2 separate regions of the Homo sapiens genome follow, and region 2 is linked to region 1. Evidence: promoter capture Hi-C in 16 types of primary human blood cells and fetal thymus (Javierre and others, 2016). All regions are on one chromosome and are shown on one strand. Each heading gives the region's core, a stretch centred on a gene start or on the middle of the fragment in contact. The rest is flanking DNA. Distances are from core to core; before and after follow the strand shown. Region 1 holds the start of C17orf75 (chromosome 17 open reading frame 75). Region 2 overlaps MYO1D (myosin ID).

The links. Contacts are between HindIII fragments. The CHiCAGO score rates a contact against its expected background, and 5 or more counts as called.
Region 2: a fragment that was not itself captured here is called in contact with the fragment with the promoter of C17orf75 in region 1 in 1 of 17 cell types (naive CD8 T cells); the score reaches 5.2 in naive CD8 T cells.

What each region holds. Positions count from the first base shown.
Region 1 is chr17:32,339,570-32,345,350 of GRCh38, reverse strand. C17orf75 (chromosome 17 open reading frame 75) reads left to right here and starts at 3,178. Exons shown (of 10, transcript NM_022344.4): 1 at 3,178-3,351; 2 at 4,067-4,147; 3 at 5,413-5,538. The coding sequence starts at 3,212. It also overlaps the pseudogene OOSP1P2. RefSeq lists silencers at 3,392-3,471, 3,966-4,148 and an enhancer at 2,611-3,497. The HindIII fragment of the contact is 3,672 bases long and covers 3,004-5,781 here.
Region 2 is chr17:32,754,068-32,759,848 of GRCh38, reverse strand. MYO1D (myosin ID) reads left to right here. Exons shown (of 22, transcript NM_015194.3): 11 at 4,187-4,357. Among named protein-coding and RNA genes, the nearest start is that of MYO1D-DT, 120 kb to the left of the region's middle. The HindIII fragment of the contact is 1,200 bases long and covers 1,865-3,064 here.

The DNA.
Region 1 (5,781 bases), core at 1,929-4,428:
GCGTGCACCACCAGGCCTGGCTAATTTTTGTGTTTTTAATAGAGACGGGGTTTCACCATGTTGGCCAGGCTGGTCTCGAACTCCTGACCTTGTGATCCGCCTGCCTCAGCCTCCCAAAGTGCTGGGATTACAGGTGTGTGCCACCATGCCTGGCCCCTAAAATTCTATTTCTAAGGAATATCCAATCAAATGTGAAAATACAATAAAGACGTGAGGATATATTTTCAGACATGCAAGAGCTTAAAAATTATTTTATATATACCCTTTCTTGGCTAATATTGGAGGCAGTACTTGAGCAAATCAAGAGAATAAACCATAATCTAGAAAAAATGGGATTAACAGGGAAGAATGTGAAGAAATCCAGATAAGAATAGAAGAAAGGGTTGTTGGGGGGGACTCTATTACTTCCTTTCTTTCTTTTTTTATTTTTATTTATTTTTTTTTGAGACAGAGTCTCACTCTGTCACCCAGGCTGGAGTGCAGTGGCATGATTTCGGCTCACTGCAACCTCTGCCTCCCGGGTTCAAGTGAGTCTTCTGCCTCAGCCTCCTGAGTAGCTGTGACTACAGGTGTGTGCCACCATGCCAGGCTAACTTTTGTATTTTCAGTAGAGATGGGATTTCACCATATTGGCCAGGCTGGCTTCAAACTCCTGACCTAGTGATCCACCCACCTCGGCCTCCCAAAGTGCTGGGATTACAGGTGTGAGTCACCACGCCCGGCCGTATTAGTTTCTTTCTTTCTTTTTTTTTTTTTTTTTGAGACAGAGTCTGGCTCTATGGCCCAGGCTGGAGTGCACTCTGCCTCCCAGGTTCATGCCATTCTCCTGCCTCAGCCTCCCAACTAGCTGGGACTACAGGTGCCCACCACCTCACTGGGCTAATTTTTTGTATTTTTAGTAGAGATGGGGTTTCACCGTATTAGCCAGGATGGTCTCGATCTCCTGACCTTGTGATCCGCCTGCCTCGGCCTCCCAAAGTGCTGGGATTACAGGCGTGAGCCACCACACCCAGCCACTGTATTAGTTTCTTATGGCTGCTATAACACGTACCACCTGGGCATGGTGGCTCACACCTGTAATGTCAGCACTTCGGGAGGATGGGGCAGAAGGATCACTTGAGCCCAGGAGTTCAAGACCAGCCTGAGCAACAAAGTGATACACTGTCTCTATAAAAAATAAAAATACAGCTGTTTCCTGAGTGAGATTTGGCTTTCAGTCTGGGCAAATGAAGACCATTTTGCGGTTAAATGGGCTCTTTTTTCTCAATTCCTTGATATGGACCTGTGCTGGGGACTGGTCGGCTATTCAAGTACAATGCACCCAGTTTTGGTTCTGTGCCAGGATTAAACCCACGATATTTCACAATTTGTATATGAACCCCGATGAAGTGTTTCTAGGAGATGGCTGCCTTGTAACCTAGTTTTGCCAAATATCTACTATGAGTTTTTCTACCATCCTCATGACTGTGGTAACTCAACCTCTCCAGGAAGTTCTTCTGCTTAAAACTAAAATCAAGTATATCTCAAGAGACTACTGCCGATCTGAAATGCCTCTGTCATGTGTTGTCCGCAATCAGAATCCTCTTTTAAATGTAGTTGAAATGAGAGATAAGGAAACTGACAATGTTACTGAATGGGAGATAGAGGTGAGGATACCCATTGCGAATGAAGACATGGCAGTAACTTCTGCAATACAATCTTTTAAGAATCTGACTGCTATACTCACTTGTTCATCAAATGAGTACCTTTATTGCAAGAGAAGAAACTGTGCTATCCACTTTGATATGGAGAGGCAATTTGGAATCTCTGCCATAATTGCTTAGGACTGAGGATTTAATGTGCTATTTTGTGAAAATCTGAGAAGCAGGAAGGGGATTTAACGATCTCAACTGTTATCCATCTGAAAAACCTAACTTGTAATTTTAAATGAAATGGCAGGTTGCCTTCCACTATTCCTTTTTAAAAATAGGAACTGCCCCTGCTTTTAACTTTATGAAGTTTTATTTATGAATAAAGTTTGCACTACTAAAAATAAAAAAAAAAAACACAAAACACACGCATGCACACACACACGGTGGCTTAAAACAATGGAAATGTATTATTTCACAGTTCTGGAGGCTGGAAGTTGACATGGAGGTGCTGGTGGGGACATACTCTCTTGAAGCCTCTAGGGGAGAATCTGTTCCATGTCCTCTCCTAGCTTCTGGTGATGACCATCAATCCTTGACATTCCTTGGTTTGTAGATACATCACTCCAGTCTGCCTCCTCCTTCACGTGGCGCTATGGTTTGAGTGTTTGTCCACTCCCAAATTCATGTTGAAATGTAATTGCCATTGTAAGACTATTAAGAAGTGGGGCCTTTAAGAGCTAATTATAAATTGCCCAGTCTTTGGTATCCTTTTATAGCATCATAAAATGGACTGAGACAGAAAACTGGTACCAGAGAATGGGGTGTTGCAGAAACAAACACCTGAAAATGTGAATTGGTGTTAGAACTGGGTAATGGGCAGAGACTGGAAGGGTAGCTGGCATTACAGGCGTGAACCACCACACGTGGCTAATTTTTTTGTACTTTTAGTAGAGACACAGTTTCACCATGTTGCCCAGGCTGGTCTTGAACTTCTGACCTCAAGTGATCCGCCTGCGTCGGTCTCCCAAAGCACTGGAATTACAGGCGTGAGCCACCGTGCCCGGCCTTTTAGTTTTTACGTAGTCATTTTTTTAAACGTTTTCCTGTATGACTTCTAAGTGTTTTGTTATGTTTGGAAAGACCCTCTTCAAGAATTAACAAAATTATCCCATATTTTCACTTTAACAAAATTCATTTTAAATTCTTAACTTTTTGATCAAACGGGTGTCTGTGCGTGCTGGCACGCGCGCAAGGAGGCAGACGAGTAGCCTTATTCTTTTCCATGTGGCTAGGTAGTTGTGCCACCTTTATCACATAGAAAGTTTCCCAGATGTCTCAAAGGAAAATAAGTTCAAAATAAATGGTAAAAGCTTGTCAGTAAAGGCGAACTCAGTACGCCTGTCAGCCCCTGTGGGGAGAAGAGACTCCCTTTCCAGGCCAGTCCTTGCCTGCGAACCCGGGGAAACCAGCGGAACGCAGGTGTGCGAGGGCCGGGAGCCGGACGAGCCCTGATACCGACGGCTGCACGGGAGCAGGGGAGCGGTTTGGCGGAGACACAGGGCCGCTCAGAGGCCGCCGCAATGCTCCCCTCTTTGCAGGAGTCGATGGATGGAGATGAAAAGGAACTAGAGAGCAGCGAAGAGGGAGGCTCAGCCGAGGAGCGGAGACTCGAGCCGCCGTCCAGCAGCCACTACTGTCTTTACAGCTATCGCGGAAGCAGGTGCTGGCGCCCAGCTCGGCCTGCCAGCCCGCCCGCCCCTGCGGCCCCGCCCCCGGCCCGCCGCCCGGCCTTGCACCCCACCCCCGGCCCAGCGGCCCGGCCGCTCCTAAAAGCCATCTTCTCCTCTCCCAGCCAAGGTCTCTGGCCTGAAGGGCGCTCCTCGCCTCCCGCTGCTCTTCCTGGCCCCCGTCGTGGACTTGTATGCCTGGCCCAACCATGCCTGTGCCCTTCATCTGCCCCTATATCATCCCAGCCTCTTACTCTCGCGGCTGCCCTTTGTTTAGCGCAGTGCCCCGCATGCTCAATAATTTCAGTTCCCGTCCCCTCTCCTTTCTGTCATTATCTCCCCACTTCTCCCATTTCTGTCACACACACCCCCATCCCCACCCTCTGGTTTTCCTCTGTTCTTGATTCCTCTTTTTCCTCCTTCTGACTTTCCTGGAACCTTCTTGGCCTTGTCAAGTTTGGTTTTTAAAGGAGTTTCCTTGAACCTTCTGGGTATTTAGCCTTTCCTCCACCCGTTAAGTGGCCTGGAGAGAGAAGGGGCTCTTGTCAGCACTGCTGTATGGGTTTTCCTTGTCATGAGGATAGGCAGTGCACTTCCACCTTGCAGCATTTTTAGTTGACTCCTTGCCTTACCCTGCTTGCCAGGCCCCCATACTCCTCTTGGTTTAGAGCCCATAATTGATAGCACTATTGGTTTTGTGGCTTGTAGATTGGCACAGCAACGAGGGGACAGTGAGGACGGAAGCCCAAGTGGCACAAATGCAGAAACTCCCTCTGGTGATGATTTCAGGTAAAAAGAGCTTCAGCATAATTCATGCATGTGCTTTCATCTTCCCTGCATCTCTGGCCTGTACATGTCAGTGGATACTCTATTTCCACTGAGCTTTCCCTGAGTCAAACCGTCAATTCCTCCTATCCCCTAGGAACCTCATCCTGATTTCCTCATTGGCTGGTTCATTCAAGGCTGGGGCAAACAAATCCACATACTGATAGTGTGCTTGGTGATTAGCCAAAAAGAAATCCTTTTTTTTTCTTTTTCCTTTTAAATTGAGACAGGGTCTTGCTCTGCTGCCCAGGCTGGAGTGCAGTGGCATGACTTTGGCTCGCTGCAGCGTCAACCTCCCCGGCCTCAGGTGATCCTCTCACCTCAGCCTCCCCAGTAGCTGGGACTACTGACCACCACGCCTGGCTAATTTTTGTATTTCTGGTAGAGATGGGGTTTCACCATGTTGCCCAGGCTGGTCTTGAACTCCTGGACTCAAGTGATCCGCCCACTTCTGCCTCGCAAAGTGTTGGGATTACAGGCATGAGCCACCTTGCCCAGCCCTGAAAAATTTTTTTTTTTTTTTGAGACAGAGTCTCCCTCTGTTGCCCAGTCTGGAGTGCAGTGGTGCGATCTCAGCTCACTGCAAGCTCTGCCTCCCGGGTTCACGCCATTCTCCTGCCTCAGCCTCCCGAGTAGCTAGGACTACAGGCACCCACCACCACGCCCGGCTAATTTTTTTGTATTTTTTTTTAGTAGAGACGGGGTTTCACTGTGTTAGCCAGGATGATCTCTATCTCTTGACCTTGTGGTCCACCTGCCTCGGCCTCCCAAAGTGCTGAGATTACAGGCGTGAGCCACTGCTCCCGGCCCCAGCCCTGAAATTTTTAAATCATCAATTATACCTCAATAAAGTTGAAAGATAAAAAAGATAAGAATGTGTGCAGGGGTGTGATTATAATGACTGACCATGGAATTAAGGCAGAATAAGGAGGGAAGTGAGATGAGAAACTTGAGAGACTGAAAAAGAGGTAGGGTCAGTGGATTGGGGGTTCCAGTGGAGTCACAGTACTGGAGAGAATGAGCTGGAAAGATAGGAATATTTTAAGCTATTTGATGAGGTAGATCATACTTAGTGACATACATTCCTAGAAGCCTCACCAATAGGGGTCATAAGGACAGCTTTCCCCAGTCCTTAAAAGAGCCCCTGGCGTTGGTACCATTCTGTCTGACTTAATGGGTGTGAATACCCTAGTCCACTGGTAAAGAATGTGTGTCTTTCATTTGTCAAGCCTCTCCTTGGCAGATACTAATCTACCATCCGAAGTGGAGCCAGAGCTGCGCAGTTTCATTGCTAAGCGTCTTTCAAGAGGTGCAGTCTTTGAAGGGCTGGGTAATGTTGCATCTGTGGAGCTAAAGTAAGTGCAAAATGTGCTGTGTCCTGAGTTTTTATTTCTGAACTAAATATGAGAAGTGATGAGAAACTCCAAAAGATCAGCTCCTACTAGACCTGCAGAATTTGTCTTTATTCTCTGGCAGCCCGAGCACTGGGCCTCACACATAAACATTTGTGGAATGGAATTAATTGAATGGCAGAGACCCTGGCACCCAATTGCACTTTATTTAATTAGTTTATTTTTTTTTGAGACAGGGTCTTGCTT
Region 2 (5,781 bases), core at 1,215-3,714, 420 kb before region 1:
TGAAACCTACACATTAAAATACTTGTTTTACTTTGCATTTTCTTGTGTATTACACTTCAATTATCACCTCTACTCTAATCAATCTTTGGGAACTTTTGTATTTGTCAGAGGCAAACTAATCTGGTAAGATATAGCTGGAAAGTATAATGGGTGCACAGTGCAAACCACAGAGATCAAAGCTAAAAGGCATGACTTGTTTGGTTTTTAAATTTCCTGTGATAAGACCTTCTGTTTATGATAGAAATGAGACATAGTAATTTTTCTTGTAAGTTTGTATTTTTAAGCAATTTTGAGAATAAACTTGAAAAATACAAAAACTTTTAAGTTTCTGTAGTTTGAGTTTATATGATTGTTCATCCTCTTGCCAGAGAATAGAAATGAAGCCAGTATTTGTTTTTTGTTATCCAATATAATAGCAGCAAAAAAATATTTGAAATACTATATTTAAATGACTTTTATCTTCCTTCCTACCTATTTTCTATTTCCTCTCATTCTGAAATAAAGAGACAGTGATATAACAAATAGCTTTCCCGCCTCAAAATTGTATCTGCCTTCCATCATGTGTTAAACGTTAGAATACCATAAAACAGTTGCTCAGGTATATTGGCATAAATTTTACCTATCTGCATATAAACCAAAGGGCTATTTTATATAAGAATTATCTATAGTTTGACTTAAATAATGAACTCTCCTAATACAATTAAAATTTAATTCAGTTCAATTAAGTGTATATGAAGCTTTCTAAGAATGAAACTGTTGTATAATATAATACACGGTATAACTGAAGCTTGGATTTTTAATACCAAATTTAATCATAAAACTTGTTATTCAAATGTGATTCCAAGGTACTAGTCAAAAATATCCTTTCACAATCAGAATATCAAATTTCACAGACATAATTGACAACAGGGTAAGTAATGCAGTGGACTGTTCCAAACATCTCAAAAAGAATTAAGAATCCCAAAATGCAAAAAATTTTCGCTAAATAAACCAAGAACTATTTGTCCTAGAGGGAGCAGAAGGCTAACTCCAAGGTAACAGTTACTTACTACATGGCAGATCCCCCCACAATTAGAATCTCTATTCTGGGTAAAACCCCAAACTTCTAAACATAGTGATTCTTTTTAAAAGATTTTTTATTATGGAAAATTTTAAACACACATTAAGAAGACAGACTATAGTACAGTAAACCCTATATACCCATCACCTGGCTTTAACACGTACCAGTTGATTGCCAGTCTTATGCCATCTGTACTATACCCACCTACTCCCAGATTATTTTGAAGCAAATTTCAGATATCACATTATTTCATCTATTCAATTGGGTATCTATTCAGTAAATATTTCCATGTATTTCTCTAAGAGAGTTTTACAAAAACCATAATCACAATGCCATTATCATACCTAAAACATTAACAAAAATTCCTTAATATCATAAAATATCCAGTCAGTATACATGTTTCATATTTCCTTAATTGTCTTCTGGTTGTTGTTTTGCAGGTTAAATTTGGATCCAAATAAGTTTCTTACATTATGATTGATTGATAGGTCTCTTGCATATCTATAGATTTTCTCCATGTTTCTTTTTTTCCTTGAATGATCTCTCTTTGCAATCTTGTGTTGAAGAGAATGAGTCATTTGTTATGGAGTTCCCCACAGTCTGGATTTTGCTAATTGCATTCCTCAGGTGCCATTTAATATGTTTCTCTGTTTCTTGTATGTCCTGTATATTGGTTGTTAGATCTAGAGTCTTGACTGGATTCAGAGTCAGTTTTTTTCCACAGCCCATTTCATAGACTGTGTGTGAACTTCCACCAGGAGGTTCATAATGTCTGGTTATCTGGTACATTCACTTTTAAAAGCTTTCGATGCTGTAGTTTGCAAATCATTTTAACTATTGAGAACTTGATACTCAAGCACAAAGCTGTTTTATCTGGAGTGGGTATGAAAGGCCAGAGCCCCATGTCCCTAAGCTACCCCATCACAAGTCTTCTGGCTCCTGGTATCCCTTAGGAAACCTTACGGGAATGCCAAGTTGCTGGAAGAACTTAGTTTGAAAACTACTGGTTTAAGCAATGTTTGAAGCAGTATTAAACTTACAAACTGAAAGTTACTAGCAGAGACCAATAGCTTTTAATAATATAATTGGGATTTTAGGGAAGGTAATTCTTTAGTCCCTGGGACAAAAGACTTCGTCTTTAATTTCACAGTCCCGAAGTCTAAGATGTCAACTATTAATATAGAGCTCCTGCTTTTTGAGTATTTTTAGGATTTTTTTTCCAAAGATGGAAATAACTTTTCTCCCTAATTAGAAATGTAATAAATGCCCATAATGAAAGTAAATATTTAGACCTACACTGCTTCACCTCAGTACTACTGAGATTTTGTGCCAGATAGTTCTTTGTTGTGGAGGCTGTTCTATGCATTGTAGGATGTTTAGCAGCACCCCTGGCCTCTACCCACCAAATGACAGTAGCACCCCTACCCCATTTTGACTAGAAATGTCTCCTGATATTGCCAAATGTCCCCTGGTGAGCAAAATTCCCCCTATTCCCCTATTTGAGAAACTTTAGTTTAGACAGATCAGAAAAGTATAAAAAACAAAGTAAAAACTACCCAGTTTACAGGTTTCAGTCCATAAGATACAGAAGAGAACATGCAAGACTAGAAATGGAGCTAAAAGCCATGTACAAATAACTGGCATAAAACCTTGGATTTTAAAGCATGAAATGGGAATACATGAGTCACTTGAATGGTCTATTATGAGTATATAGACCTTATAGAAGGTAATGGAGACAGCAATCAGTTTAGGTAACTCCTGCGTAAGATGGGACATAGCAAGATTAAACTGTGTGATCATAAGCTGCCCCTCTTTGAGATGTGCAGCTTGCCTGAGTTGGCCTTTCTTTGTGTGCCTTCTGTGTGTAGTGATAGGTACATTGCAGGCTGTCAGAATAAACAGGTGTGGCAGAGGATTGTTGGACAAACCTTGTACATGTATAGTTGCTGAAAAGCCAGAAGTTATTTATAACTTCATTCACCTTGTGGAAGTAAAGGAAAAGCTTTTTCTTATCTTTTATAGATATTTATTTCTCAGAATTAAATTCTTTATATTATGCCTAGAAAAATGTAAAAATTCTACTGAATTTTTTCAAATTGTTCAAAATTCTATTGAAGCTTTTTAACTTTGGGGAAACCAAAAGAAATGCTCTTTTGGATTTTAGTCATTCAGGGTCATGTAACTAAAAATGCAAGTTCTTTTTTTTTTTTTTCCGTTTTAAGTGGAGTTTATTTAACACTAAGAGATAAAGGGTTGTTAACAAACACAATGACAAATGGACATCTGATTGGGATGAGGCATTATCCTGTACACATAATGTTGATATTTTTGTGTACCCTCAGTGCATGGCATTTACACATAGAGCCACTACTGCACAGCACAAGAGTATCTGAAGAGGCTGAATCAGAGTAAGGCTGTTTAAAAGACTGAAATTTTTTAGTATATATATTCTGCATGAAAACAGAACTTTTGAACTGGCAGGTAGAAGGCAACTCTGCCAAACACTACAGTTAAAGCCCCCACTTTAGTGCACAGTTCCACCCCTTCCATCTGCATGCGTGACACATTAACAGTATTTAAAGGTAAACGAGGCACTTTGTGGCAACTGCAGCCATCGTTATGAACATATTGCACAAAATTTCTAGAACTAAACATTTAACTTGTACCCTACTTTTATAAAATTGCAAGTTTTGTGTAGTACCTTAACTTTATTATGAAGTAGTATATCAGATAATACTTTAAGGTTATTTGTTGGCCCTTTGTGGAAGGTGGACCTTACAGTTAATGGCAGGCAGATTGGTATGAAGGAGTAGGGTTGGGTGTGGGATCTGGAGGCAGGATTAAAATGAGTTTGTAATGGGAGAAATGGTGTCTACCTTATTATCTTTGCCTTGGGCTGTACTAATCTCAGACGGTGTATTTCATGATAGAAAGTTAACAAAGAAATTTAAAAATAAACCTCTGTTAGAATGTGTACTCTTTTTAGCGTAAGACCTCTTTAATGTTATTCACACATTTGACACCAAAGTAGTTTTACCTGAACTCCTGATACAAATGGGAGCATCAGGGTTTAACCTGGCCTGGTCACTGTTCTCTTCAGAATTCCCTCCTTGCTGTGTCCTACAGATTGACTACTTCAACAATCAGATCATTGTTGACCTCGTGGAGCAACAGCACAAAGGGATCATTGCAATCCTTGATGATGCTTGCATGAATGTCGGCAAAGTCACCGATGAAATGTTTCTTGAAGCACTTAACAGTAAATTGGGCAAACACGCCCATTTTTCCAGCCGAAAGGTAATGTGTTTAATGACACCTTCTTCCTTTTATCTGTGAGGTTCTCCTTATTGTTTGATGGAGTTCAACGACTTTATATGTTGGGATAAAAGAATGTCCCCTTTAATAAGAAAGAAAAGTCATAAACATTCATTAAATGATTTGTTGCTGTGGATAAATTCTGCCTCTCTGGTTTATAGTATGAAGAAATTGATAAAATCATGTTAATCCAGGAGAGGGAGCTCCAGACTATGCAATTTGGTAGAAACAGGAAAAATGAGCATGATTCTTTAGAAAGCATGATGTCATTTGTAACCAATAGATGTAGAGTCCTTGCTCATGTGCTAGAATTTTACTCCTGCATCTGATAATTCTGGCATGGAAAATAGCTTTTGTCCTTGACTTTTTACTGTAATCCTCAGTAACAAAATGTGTTGTGCACTCTGCTGTACTTCTTCAGATCATATGACTTCCTTGAAAACAGAGAGATTCTAGTTGTAATTCTAGTTATTACAGAGAAACTTATTCATTAAATAAATGGGTATCCTTTTAACTCTCCATTTTTCAGGATCTAAAAAAGTGATAAACAGATCACATATCTGTAGTAATTGGTGACAATTGTGCTTATCAGACCTTTGTGCTGATATGGACATATCATTTGCATGGAATATTCCATTTGCATGGAATATGTTTGCTATTAATATTTGTTCAAGAAATTTGTGTTAGAAGAGGAACACATCATCATCGCCCCTGAGACTTCCCTACCCATAGTCTTGTCTAGTAACCATATGCTAAAGGGAAAACAGGCCCTTGCTCCTTCACATCCATAGAAAAAGGGGGCAAACATTTCTGCCTCTCCAGAGTTCCATGTAAATCTCTGACACTGCCATTTTTTAGTGTGAATAAAGTCTATTTTCTAACTTATCTCCTTTGAAATTATGTAATCAGAACAGAGAAATTCCACAATTAACTAGCTAAAGCCCAAATCGTCAAGAAATAGATTACTAGCTGACATTTATTTTAGGCCAGTTTTTTCTAAAATATTCTCCTTGGTCTGTTACTGAGGATTGATAGTAACCCTACTACAAATTGGCTTTCAGATACTACAGTCTGCTCTTTCATGTTAGGGTTTTGGGTTAGAGGTACTGCTTCAGTCATTCCCTATTTACACCACAAATACCTAATAAGTGCTTCTCATCTTCCAGGTGCAATCCTAGGTGCTGGGGACAGAGTACTGGGCAAAGTTAGAAGTCACCTAAATAATTTAGAGTGATGCTTTTAAAGATGGCATGATTACATGGGCAAATGTCCTATCTTTGAGGGAAAGTTTATAAATGCCCTTTATAATCACAGTTCAGGTTTGGAGACTCACTTAGCACGGTGCCTACCAGATGGTAGACATTTAATCAGTGTTTGTAAAGTTGAATTGAATTGTTCCCAATCAT